Linked DNA regions of Homo sapiens: region 1 is linked to region 2. The links are contacts of gene promoters, found by promoter capture Hi-C in human tissues and cell types (Jung and others, 2019). All regions are on one chromosome and are shown on one strand. Each heading gives the region's core, a stretch centred on a gene start or on the middle of the fragment in contact. The rest is flanking DNA. Distances are from core to core; before and after follow the strand shown. Region 1 overlaps SF1 (splicing factor 1). Region 2 holds the start of BATF2 (basic leucine zipper ATF-like transcription factor 2).

Region 1 (6,640 bases), core at 4,136-6,635, 220 kb before region 2:
ACAGTAAACCTGAGGATTTGACTTCTCCGCACTAGTGGGGAAGTTAAGACACCTTCTCACAGAAAGGCATTAATTCAGCCAAAATGAAATGTCCTACCAAAAAGGGGAAAAGTAAGCCAACAGTCCCCAATTAGGCACAAAACGGACACATCTCACAGGCTCTAAAGGAATTCTATATCCTATAGACCAGCAGTTACTCACCTGGGCCCGATGAGCAGCCCCACAAAGTTGATTTCTGGGTACTCATCTTGTGGAATCATGACTTTATCACTCACACGTGTTGCTGGAGGTCTAAGAAAGAAAAGCCTGTGTCACCGCACATTTCTGGAGAATGACACAGCCAGCGGCTTTTCTAAAACCAAATATTGGTACCAAGTGCTAATTATGGGTGACTTGAGGCAAGAGGTGAGTAGTACCAATACTGTCCCATCCCAGCAGGTCACCCATGATCTGCATGTGTCTTCATCCCAGATGACCGAGCCCCTCCGCTTACTTGTAATCTGCAGGTGGCTTGAAATCCGGATTGAGTGCAACCATCTCTGTGATGAGGTTGTGCCGCTCCTCTTCCAGCTTTTTGCGGGTGCGGAACTCTCGGGTGTTAAGCCGCTTCCCCTCGCTATTGTAGATGGGCTCAGGGGAAGGGGACCTGTGGGAAACAGACTCCCGTTTACTATTCTGCACCGACTTCTCTCATTCCCACACGGACTATAACAAGTCTTTCCCAGCCCCTCTGCCTCTCAGACCCTAATACAACACTCTTCGGAGGAACCGACCATAACGTGTGCTACTCAAGATCGTGTGGAATGGGGAGATGGAAGCTGGCTTAACGTTAGGGGTCTGGGGTGTGTGTGAGAAAGGAAAAAAATAAAAGATTTTGCATCTAGAAGTGATGAGAGGAAAAAATGTCTATTCTTTGGGGAAAATCTTTGGACTGTAAGTGGCAAGGACAGTATCATCCCCTGGAGTCTTCTTGCCAAATACGGATTTTCTTCCATTTGAAAAAAAATACATATCCCAACTTTATGAACCACAGAAACCCCAAGTTTAGGCAAAAGGTTAACTCTTGGAGAGCTCATGCCCTATGAGGAAAAGCTTCTGTACCCCTAACACATAGTATGTATGAGCTCTTTAACCCAATGCAACTGGGACTGAAGGCTACTGCAGCTACTTGGCCCCCACAATGGAGAGAGATGGTTCGCTTCGTCTTTGCTTTTCCTTCAATGGCCTGGCTGGCTGTGTCCAAGGCCCAGGAGACAACCTGTTTTCTGGCTGTTCGAGGTTGGGGAGTCTGGGTAGAGAAAAACGTTAAAGTGCTAAAGCAGCTTCTGCGAGAGGCTGCAAATGCAGATTTGGTCATACTTGTCTAGGGTCTGAACCTGCAAACAGCAAGGGGAAAACCTATGATTCTCCACCAGAGTTTACAAGTCCAGAAAGCAGATTTTCTCTCTCTCATTTTTTTAAGGAGTAAAATGCTGTTGCTACAAGTAAAAAAATGTAATGATAAAATGGTCAGTTTACCACAGCTGGATTTTGCGGTAATAAAAAAGAGAGGTTACACTCCTAGAATTTTGAGTTAAGATTACAAAAAGGACCATAGCTTGATATTCTGAATGAAAATTTAGTAGCAGCTGCAAGAAGGGAAGAGACCATGTGGATCAGGTTATTAAAAAAACATACTGAAAGTAATCAAGACTCCTATACCCTTGGTTTAGTTGAGAGAACCTTGCCTAGTTGGAGAGCAAGGACTGAACTCGGCTGCTCCCACTGTCTTCAGCCTAAAGGGAACCATGTCACACCACGTTACACACACGATGGAATAAAAGGTCAGGTTTGTTCATGGCTAATGACGGCTAAATGACACCTCCGTTTCTAGCATTTGTATAAACTGTTAGCACAATCCATTAAGAGTGAACAAAAGCAAACATACCCCAGCTCATTAGACTACCATCTTATACATTTAAGTCTACAAGAAAAGTTTTAAACATGTTTTTACTGTGCAAGTTAAGCAGCATCAAAATAACAATAAAGTGGCTTAAGTGATATAACACCTTTTTAAGAAATTATCTTAATTAAGAAAACCCATGCATTTCCCTCCAACCTGGGCTCAAAAGCAAAACCAATCAGGCATTAGGGCCTCTTTCAAAACTGAATAGAAGGGAGGAAAAACCCTGCTCTGGTTTTATTTCTAACATGCTTGACATTTCTAATTCCCACCCCACAGCTGTCTAGAATTAAGCATTCTTAGCTAGTTACAAAAACAAGTCTTACCAGCACCCAATTGGCCATGTGAAGGCCTCACAACAGTTTAACCTCCTCCCAAATTGCAGAAGTGAAAGGCAAAAGCTAGTATTCTAGAGGTTAGACTGGCCCGACTTCTTCACCTCCAACAGGCATCGGCTAGATCAACTAAATTCTAATCCCAGTTATCCAGGAAGCAAAGAAGGTTTGTTAAAAATTCAACCTTTGGAGGAATTGACTGGTGACCTGTAGACATATTATTAAAGGGAAAAAGGCCAAAAAGGCACTAAACAGTTGTGGTCTATGACCTACAATGTAAATTTAAAAAAAAAAAAAATCTTCAAAAAGAAACGAAACACAACACAACCCTACAACCAAAATCTATCTATAGGTAAAATATAGCAAATGTAGTAAGTCAAATTAAAGAGTCAATATGGAGAAACAAGGAAGTTAATGTTTCCTGGCAAAGGGCGGAAGAAAGATGCATGAGTGAGTGACTTCTAAAGCCATTACATCATCTTCCTGATTTAATAAGCTATTAACTGGGTAACAAAAACCAAAAACACTACTTTTTAAAGCAAAGTCTTTTCAACTATTCTGTATGTACTAAGAGAAAATTCAGTGAGAGGGAGAGACTTACTGCCCTTCTAATTAAATGACCAATTTTAGCTGTTCAATCAGCTAATAAAATTCCAGTTTAAAAAAGTTCATCTCCCCCACACAATTTATTTTTCTGAGGTGAGAGAAACTGCAAACTGAAATGACATGACCACAGCTGTTTGAGGCCCACGCTCCCTTTAAGGAAAAAAAAAAAGTAATTTAGGGTTGGTTGCATGCCTTCCCAAAATAGGTGAGAATATTCTGGCCCCTCCCAACACCCCCAAGGCAATGGCCAAGGCTGAAAGTTAACTGGCAGTGAAAGAAGTTGGTTAGAAATCTCATCTGATTTTGAAACCATCTCAAAACCATGAGCAGGAAGACTGCAGCAATGAGCTGACCAGAGCTCCTGGCTTGCTCAAGTTCAGTGATGCTCAAAAATATTTTTAGTCCCTGCACTGTGTACCTGTGAGAAAAACTCTATGCCCTGGGCTTTTGGCCAAAGCAGGTACTGAAAAGGCAGGTTAACGGGCCACCTCACTGTCCCCTAAGGGTGGGTAAATCAGGTTAAGATCTACATGCTTACCAATTGGAAACCAGTTGTCCATTTTCCTGTAACTTTTTATTCTCCCAACATTTTTAAGTTTTATTCCAATTTTCTAACTGTTGACTGACCATACATATTTCTAATTAAACCTTAATCCCCAAAGTGGTCAGGGTACAGTCGTCATACTATGATTTTATTGAACTGACACAATATGTTGCCACCAGTAAAACGTATTGAGAAAAAGGTAAAAGCGTTACTGTCAGCTGGTTAAAACTGTTTCCCAACCTGTCCTCAGGGTTAGGGGGGATGCCCAGGTCTCCTGTGCGCAGTTTACGAGTCAGGTCTTCTATCTGCAGTTGCACTGGAAGAAACCAGGTTAGGAAAGAAAAAAAAGGATGGAAAAAAGACAATGTTACCAATAAACATCTCAAATCTCAACAACAAGCATGAAGAACTCGGAGACTTTGAAAGGGACGACTGATCAGTGAACACATTGAAGCAAAAACCCCCAACCACCTATCGGCAGGAGTCCTTTTACATCTATAGGTTTTTTTCACTTCAAAATGGTTATCACTTAAGGAAGCAAACAGTTTGTTGGAAGAGGGGTTAGCAATAAAGACTGTTCACTAAGGCTAACATCCAAGCAATTATTAGGAGGTGTTTCACCTCTTCCTCCCCACCAAGGCTTGCTTACCATTGGTACCCAGAACCATAAACCATGTTACGTCACCAATACCCGACTCCCATCAAATTACTTGAGGGCAAGAATTGAGTTTTTTCTTCATTAAATGTTAAACATAGCCCAAAATGAGACCCAATTAACATGGGACAAGGAAAAATACCAATTGAGCAAAGATCATTTTCATTAATACATTTAAAATTCCTTAAATAAGACATTTAATAACAAAATTCAACACCTTATAGAAATTTGTACATACTCTTTCTGTACAACCAGACCTGTACTAGTAAGGGTCTCCCAATACCTGCAGCTCTTATTCAATTATATGAAATATTTATTCAAATATTAAATGACAAACCACATATCTTAATAAACCAGTAACCATAAAGTGCTAAGAATTTGTTTTCAGGCTCACTGTTCATATGGGGAGCAGGCGTGTAGAAGAATGGAATGTGTGTTCAAGGACAATGTACTTGGCCCTCGGGCCTTGACCAATGAGGCTGTGCATGAAAAAGAGAGATGAGGGTTTCACAAAAGTTGCCAGTGACGCCAGGGAAATGTTACACAGCTGATTTTCCAAGATAATGGGAACTGCAGAGCCAGAGCAGCTTTCTTCAACATGCGGAATAACCACCTGTTCCTTACCTTCGCAGCATCTGAGAATTTTCAGCAGGCATCTCCAATAAGGGCAAATGTTACTAGGTTGGGTTAAAACTGAGCTGGCTCCAAGATAGGATTAATGCGTGTCTAACCAAAGATTCCTTCTAACTTTAAATACATCCACAGGGCTATACCACACCCACACACTAAAACCCTGAAGAAATGAAAACCCATTATTATCGAAAGAAAATACTGGCCGGGCACAGTGGCTCACACCTGTAATCCCAGTACTTTGGGAGGCCAAGGCAGGCAGATCATGAGGACAAGAGATCGAGACCATCCTGGCCAACATGGTGAAACCCCGTCTCTACTAAAACTACAAAAAAAATTAGCTGGGCATGGTGGCGTGCGCCTGTAGTCCCAGCTACTTGGGAGGCTGAGGTGGGAGAATCACTTGAACCCGGGAGACGCAGGTTGCAGTGAGCCGAGATCGCACCACTACACTCCAGCCTGGCGACACAGCAAGACTCAGTCTCTCAAAAAAAAAAAAAAAAAGATATTGAGGGCATCCTGGACAAAGCAGTATGTACCGTGGGAGACAGAAAAGTAGTAAGACACATGGTTCCCCAAGCTCCTTTATGCCTAAAAAGTTCTGACTTTGCAGTTGAGTATTAAGCTCAACAACTCGAGGTGAAAGTCACCTTCACTGAGGGGAGAAGGTGAGTCTTCCTAGCTGACTATGGAGATGTGGGGCCTGATCTAAATAAAAAGGGTCATTCTCTTCTGTGGAGAACTACACCTCTCCTTTGATTCTATTTTGATTATAGCTATAAATAGTCCTTAGGGCCCAGTGAACTAACTAGCCCTCCACAAAAACAGAAATGGAGATATAAAGAATTTGTGCTCTTCCCATCTTCTAAGTATGCTTGTGTTCTTGGGATATCACTCCACTAGGGGCATTTCACAAGGATGTAAAGACCCAGACTAGTCTAATATGAGACACAATGGAATGGGTGGGAGTAGACAGGAACAGTAGGGGAAAGAACAAGTATTAGTAGTACTGTGAAAGGAGACAGACAATTCCAACGCCTCAAAATTCTCAGCAGTCTAAAAAACAGGAAATTAAGACCCTCAAAAGTAGTAACATGCTGGCCTTGAAGCTTTTTGGTTGTGAAGGCCACAGCCTCGTAGGTTTAGGAGGTCTTTGCCCGAATTTCCTCCAAAGGGGATGTTTATTTGGTTAGTAGGAAATGTTTATAAAGTGAACTTTTTTGAGACAGCTGCACAGGTATATAAAGATAAAACTTGCATTAAAAACTTTTTTTTCCAAAAAAGCAATTTTGAGGTTAATTTCAATTCCACTGTGGATAGTCATTAATTCTCAAAACCTCCCAGCAAATAAAACCTTTTTATCCTAGCACTTCATTCCATATCCATGCAATATCCCTTTCCCAGCAGAGTTCTTTAAAAGTAAATACAAGAGCCTTCATTTTAAGACAGCTCTCCATAGACCAAACCAGAAAAGATGTTGAAGGGAAGGTTAAACTCTTAAATTCAAGAAAATAAAAAGGGGTAAATTGTAAACACACTTTCAGAACCACTTTTTGTCATTTTTTTTTTTTCAGAAAGTACCTATAAAAAGTAAAAGACCACATTTTAGGGGGAGAAATATAAAATTATGGTGAAAGGCCACGCTGTGAAAAGTACTTGGTTTACAGTACCTGCGGTGTTCTCCACTGGGGCCTGTCCAGAGAGGCAGATGACACTCACCTCATCAACTGGCAATGAACAGCAGCTGAAAAGGGTGGCTGCTGGACTGGGGACTGTTCTTACTCCTAAGTGAAACCCTACCTTCCTGATACTCATGGAGAACACTGCAGTTACGAACAGACCAAAACAAGGAGCTGCAAATGCAGAACTCACTGGGCAAAAACTGACAGATGATACCAAAGTCGTGAAAGTATCTCATCTCAAAAAAG
Region 2 (6,413 bases), core at 234-2,733:
GAAATTGCTCACATTGTAGTGGGGTGGTAGCGAAGGATGAATGAATGAAGGGTTTATTCCGGTGGAAGAGTGGACTCAAAGGTTGTGACCACCTTGTACCCTGGGATCAATGAAACTTAGATAAAATATTTTACCCAAATGTCCAGAGCTCTGCAAAGTCAGAGCAAGAGGGACTGTTGGAGAGCTCACAGCCCAGCCCCCGCCCCCAAGTCTCTCTGGGGTATGTGTTTTGAGGGTAAGGACCTCAGGCAAGGCCCTGGCCGCCCTGGCTGCAGATTCTGAATGCTCCTAGGCTCCTGCTCCATATGCTCCCTTGGGCCATGTCCACAGCGGGCTCACTGTAGACACTGGGGCACCAAGAAACTAAAGGCTGAGACAGGACCCACGGTGAGTGAAGGGGGCTCCTGTGAGATAAGCAGAGCCTCCAAGGGAAACCATGGCCCAGGGAATTTATTTATTATTTTACTTTATTTTATTTTATTTTATTTTATTGAGACAGAGTCTCTGTCGCCCAGGCTGGAGTGCAGTGGCGTGATCTTGGCTCACTGCGACCTCCGCCTCCCAGGTTCAAGTGATTCTCCTGCCTCAGCCTCCTGAGAAGCTGGGATTACAGGCATGTGCCTCCACCACGCCCAGCTAATTTTTCTATTTTTAATAGAGACGGGGTTTCACCATGTTGGCCAGGATGGTCTCGATCTCCTGACCTCAGGTGATCTGCCCGCCTCAGCCTCCCAAAGTGCTGGGATTACAGGTGTGAGCCACTGAGCCCGGCCTATTTTATTTTATTGAGACAGAGTCTCTCTCTGTCACCCAGGCTGGAGTGCAGTGACATGAGCTCAGCTTACTGCAACCTCCATCTCCCGGGTTCAAGCAACTTTCCTGCCTCAGCCTCTCGAGTAGCTGAGACTACAGACGTGCCCTGCCACACCTGGCTAATTTTTGTATTTCTAGTAGAGACGGGGTTTCGCCATGTTGGCCAGGCTGATCTTGAACTCCTAACCTCATGTTATCTGCCGGCCTCAGACTCCCAAGGGGCTGGGATTACAGGCATGAGCCGGCCTGGGTTATTTGGAGAAGGAAGGAAAGGCTGCTGTGAGTGTAGTGAGGGGGGACCAGGTACGTTAGGAGAGAGCAAGTACACAGAGGCCAAGTTCTAAACCGAAGGCTGGATCTGCAATGTGAGAGCTGGAAACAACTCATTCCAATCCAATCCCGACTTCGGGGGAGGAAAGTGAGACCCAGAGAGGGGCATGCAGAGCCCTCTGTCACACTGCTCAGAGTATAGAGCTGGGACTAGGAGCTCCCGACTGCAGCCCTCACTGCCTGGGCACTGAGGACGGGATCCCAGCTCCCCTTCTCATCCCCGATCCCCAATCCCCTGTACTCACTGTCTGGGTCAGCAGCCCATTGCCCCCACAGAGGTGCATGGCTTAGGCGGGGGAGCAGAGTGGTCCCTCAGCAGCTGTGACTTCCCAGTGCCCTCTGGAGGCCTAAGGAAGTGGCAGCTCTTTAAATCCCCAGTGGCCACTCCGCCCCCAGAGGGCCAAGTTTCAGTTTCTCCTAAAGCCACCAGCTGCTCAGAATCCCTGGCTCAGGCTTGCTCACGTGGCTAGAATTTCCTAACATGAACTGGCCTTCCGGTTGGGCCCCTTCTCTGGAAAGAGGATGGTGGAGGGTGGAGAGGAGGGAAGACCAAAGGCCAGGTATGAGGAGGGTGTTCTAGGGGAGGGAGGACAGGCGGCCAGGGACTGAGATGAGAGAAGAAGCCAGTGGGGACCGATGCTCATGTGGGGTAGAGAGAGCCCTTGAGCTCTGGAATTGGGGGAACTCTGGATCACAGCACACATTGGAGCTGTCCAACTTTCAGAAAGTGACTCTCCTTCTCTGAGCCCTAGTTTTCTCATCTGGAGGATGGTACAACTACCCACTCCCAGGCTCATTGCAGGAACTAAGCCAGATAATACAACCACCCCCAAACCTTCTGAGACCACTATGGAAGCATGTCTGCAAAATTAAGCAATGGCTGTTGGATAGAACAGATGGATACATTACTGTTTTCATACAACAGACCATGAAGCAGTGGAAAGATTGATGTCCAGTGGTTAGGAGCCCAGCTTCCAAGCTATGTGACTTGGGTTCGTAATTTCATCTGTGTTTCTGTTTCCAAATCTGTAAAGTGGGGATAAAAACAATTTTGTTAGGCCAGATGCAGTGGTTCATGCCTGTAATCCAAGTACTCTGGGAGGCCAAGGCAGGAGGATTACTTGAGCTCAGGAGTTTGAGACCAGCCTGGGCAACATAGCAAGACCTTATCTATATTAAAAATAAAAAAAATAACTGGGCATGGTGGCACACACCTGTATTCCCAGTTACTCAGGAGGCTGAGATGAGAGGATCACTTGAGCCCAGGAGTTCAAGGCTGCAGTGAGCTATAATCTTGCCACTGCACTCCAGCCTGGGCAATAGAGCAAGACCTTGTTTCAAAAAAATTAATTAATTAAAAATTAAAAAATAAAGACCTAGCAAACCCTGAAGCCCCGGGCATACCTGCATGCTTGTTGTATCTCTAAGAGGGACACTTGGATGGGGCATCTGTTTGGGGGCCAGAGGGGCCAGTAATTCCTGTCCAAGAACAGCATGCATGCAGTATGTAGAGTCCTATGGTCTGGTGACTAGAGCATCTTGGAGTTGTACCTGAGACCTGAGGGCTCATGGCTGATGATGTGGTATCACAAGAATGGCAAATACAGATATGATCTTCTGATAGGTGATGGTGGCTGGAATGTTGTTTTAAAGAGTTCATGGACACCTCTGAGCTTAGTAAAAAAGAGTACTGCAGTTGATTAGCAATGTCTGCCACACCATGATCGATTAGTGATGCCTGTTATGGGCAGAGGTGTGGAGAGTGCAGTCCCCTGCTATCCCTAGAACCAGGCATAAAACAAGTCTGGGTTTCAGAGACAAAAGACTTGACTCTCCATCCTGGCACTCCACTCACCCAGTTTATCACCTGGAGCCTCAGTGTCTTCAAAGATATGCTGGTGATCACAAAGAAATGATACCTATTTGACAGTTGTTTTGAAGATGGGAAAGAATGAGATGAGAAGAAAGCTCTTGGGATATTGTAAAGTACTATGTGGCAAGGATTCCCCCTCCTGAAATTTGTGGTGTCATATTCTGGATTCTAAGATTATTAATGCAGGCTCCTAATTTAAAATGCCTGGGTGGGTGAGATTGGGCATAAGAGCTGGGCCTTGCCCTCCTAGCTTCTGAGGGGCCTGGGAGCAGAGGCGGAAGTGGGATGCCCCACGCAGTGAGGCCATCCCTGTTTCTCTGAATTATTGTTTCCTGGAAACCAGGAAGGCTGGGGCGTCTTGCCTGAGGCAGGCACCTGAAGGGCTCATTAAGCCAGCCCATGAGCTCCCCTGGGAGGATCTGCAGGCACCTTGTGCATGATGTGACTACGAAGAAACACCCGTGTGTGCTTGTGTGTGTGTGTGTGTGTGTGGAGGGGCTAGGCCTGAGTGTCCCACTCCAGATCCCAGCCCCTGCCCCAGACCCCCAGTCTTTCTTCTCCAGACCCTGGCTTCTGGCAGAGGTGAGACAGCAGGTGTAGCTCTTCCCAGAACACCACAGCCCTGGGAGAAGACCAAAGAAGGCAGCGTTTATGGCTCCCTGAGGAGGCAGCTGGGAGAGGGAGTGGCAGGGAGGGAGGGAGGTAGGGTGGGTAATGTTTAACTAGGAATGGCTGTGGGAGACTTCTCCCAGGCTGGTGGGACCATCCAATCTGACCTCGCCTTAGACGGTGTCTCAGTCAGCTCAGGCTGCTATAATGCAATACCAGAAACTGAGTGGCTTAATGACAGCCTTTTATTTCTCGCAGTTCTGAGGGCTGAGAAATCCAAGAGCAAGGTGCTGGTAGGTTTGGCTCCTGGCAAGGCCTCTTCCTGGCTGGAAGATGGTGGCACTCTTGCCGTATTCTCACACGGTCTCTCTGCCTTCTTATAAAGACACTCATCCCATTGTAGGGTCCCACCCTCACAACCTTATCTAAGCCTAATTACCTCCTGAAGGCCCCACCTCCAAATACCATCTTACCAAGGGTTGGCACTTCAGTGTGTGAGTTTGGGGGGGGAACACAAACTTTCAGTTCATAAAAGAGGGTGAGGAAACTAATGCCCAGAGGGGCAAGGTCACTCCACGGGAGGGGCAGAGCTGCAGGGAGAACACAACCTCTCTCTTCTAGGCCTCAGTCCTGCTCCACACTCTGCTTGGAAAGGCCTGGTCCATTAGTCCAGAGCCAGCAGCCCCAGTGGGTGGAGGGTTGGAGGCCTCCCAAATACCACAGCTACCAATGAGCTCCTACATGGCAGGACTGGTTCTTTGAAGGATCCCCAGTGCTTCAAACACTGCCTTCACGTAATAGATGCTCAATTAATGAATTAATTAATTAAAGTCCAGCAGGCAGCTTGCCACCCAGGAACCCCAAAACTTTCCTGAGGAAAGAAACTTTTCACTCATTCCCATAGGACCTGCCCTGGGTTCCTGGTGGGCTCCCCCCAACCAACTTCATCATTTCACCAATGAATAAACTGAATTATAGGGAAGAGAAAGTCACACCACTGTTTTGGGAGAAGCCAGAATGCCCTGAAGCCCTGTCCCTTTTTTTTTTTTTTTTTGAGACGGAGTCCCACTCTGTCACCCAGGCTAGAGTACAGTGGCACAATCTTGGCTCACTGCAACCTCTGTCTCCAGGGTTCCAGTGATTCACCTGCCTCAGCCTCCCAAGTAGCTGGAATTACAGGTGTACGCCACCACACCCACCTAATTTTTTGTATTTTTAGTAGAGATGGGGTTTCACCATGTTGGCCAGGCTGATCTCGAACTCCTGACCTCAAGTGATCTGCCAGCCTCAGCCTCCCAAAGTGCTGGGATTACAGGCGTGAGCCATTGCACGCGGCCTGTTTTTTGTTTTTTGTTTTGAGACAGAGTCTTGCTCTGTCTCCCAGGCTGGAGTGCGGTGGTGCGATCTCGGCTCACTGCAACCTCCGCCTCCCAGGTTCAAGTGATTCTCCTGCCTCAGCCTCCCAAGTAGCTGGGATTACAGGTGTGTGCCACCATGCCCAGCTAATTTTTGCATTTTTAGTAGAGACGGGGTTTCACCATGTTGGCCTGGCTGGTCTCAACCTTAGGTGATCCGCCAGCCTTGGCCTCCCAAAGTGCTGGGATTATAGGCGTGAGCCACCGTGCCTGGCCAATGGGGATAATAATAGAAGGATTTAAGTAATTTATGTAAAGGGCTTAGAACAGTGCACAGCCCACAGTTAAGTCACATAAACATCTGTTAAACTTAACAAAGGCACTCAATACATATCTGATTAATTTTTATTCACGTAACAACAGGCTTGTGTTTCCCTCCCTCCCTCCCTCCTTTCTCTCTCTCTCTCTCTTTCTTTCTTTCTTTCTTTCTTTCTTTCTTTCTTTCGATGGAGTCTTGCTCTGTACCCAGGCTAAAGTGCAGTGGTGGGATCTCAGCTCACTGCAATCTCTGCCTCCTGGGTTCAAGCGATTCTCCTGGCTCAGCCTCCTAAGTAGCTGGGACTATAGGCAGGCACCACCACACCCAGCAAAATTTTTGTATTTTTAGCAGAGACGGGGTTTCTCCACATTGGCCAGGCTAGTCTCCAACTCCTGGCCTCAAGTGATCCACCTGCCTCGGCCTCCCAAAGTGCTGGGATTACAGGCGTAAGCCACCGCACCCAGCCTTTTTTTTTTTTTTTTGAGACAGGATTTTGCTCTTGTCACCCAGGCTGGAGTACAGTGGCGCGATCTTGCCTCACTGCAAACTCCGCCTCCTGGGTTCAAGCAATTATCCTGCCTCAGCCTCCTGAGTAGCTGGGATTACAGATATGCAACACCACGCCCAGCTAATTTTTGTATTTTTAGTAGAGACAGGGTTTCACCATGTTGGCCAGGCTGTTCTTGAACTCCTGACCTCATGATCCTCCCGCCTCAGCCTCCCAAAATGCTGGGATTACATGCATCAGCCACTGCACCCGGCCGTAAGTGAAGTATTCTCCATGCAGCTGCTCATGAAACCTTCACCAGGAGGCAGCAGATATCTGTGTTAGAGGAGTCTCTCTCCCTTATTAGATGATCTAAGTTAAGTTACTACCAAGTCTAGAGTGCACCAGCTTCAGACACGAGGCCCAAACGATGTCATCAGGAGTCAAACTCTTACTCTATTTGCTGTCCTCCAGGCTGGCTACATTCTCAGGCAGAGCCCGGTCATGGGAGTAGGATGGCCACCAGAAACACCAGCTTCACAGCAACCCAGGGCAGGCACATCCCCAGCCCCTCCCACTTTCCCAGTAGCTCCAACAAAAGTCCCAGGCCTGGCCTTCCTTGGTCTG

Evidence for each region. Contacts are between HindIII fragments. The study calls those that stand out against the background at their distance.
Region 1: a fragment that was not itself captured here is called in contact with the fragment with the promoter of BATF2 in region 2 in 1 of the 25 tissues and cell types used here (dorsolateral prefrontal cortex).

The regions. Positions count from the first base shown.
Region 1 is chr11:64,769,763-64,776,402 of GRCh38, forward strand. SF1 (splicing factor 1) reads right to left here. Exons shown (of 13, transcript NM_004630.4): 3 at 3,668-3,743; 4 at 494-646; 5 at 202-291. Among named protein-coding and RNA genes, the nearest start is that of SF1, 5.5 kb to the right of the region's middle. RefSeq lists an enhancer at 2,974-3,063. The HindIII fragment of the contact is 3,858 bases long and covers 3,457-6,640 here.
Region 2 is chr11:64,995,488-65,001,900 of GRCh38, forward strand. It overlaps BATF2 (basic leucine zipper ATF-like transcription factor 2), which reads right to left and starts at 1,484. Exons shown (of 3, transcript NM_138456.4): 1 at 1,389-1,484. The coding sequence starts at 1,427. RefSeq lists an enhancer at 883-1,383 and a cis regulatory region at 2,628-3,766. The HindIII fragment of the contact is 29,477 bases long and covers 1-6,413 here.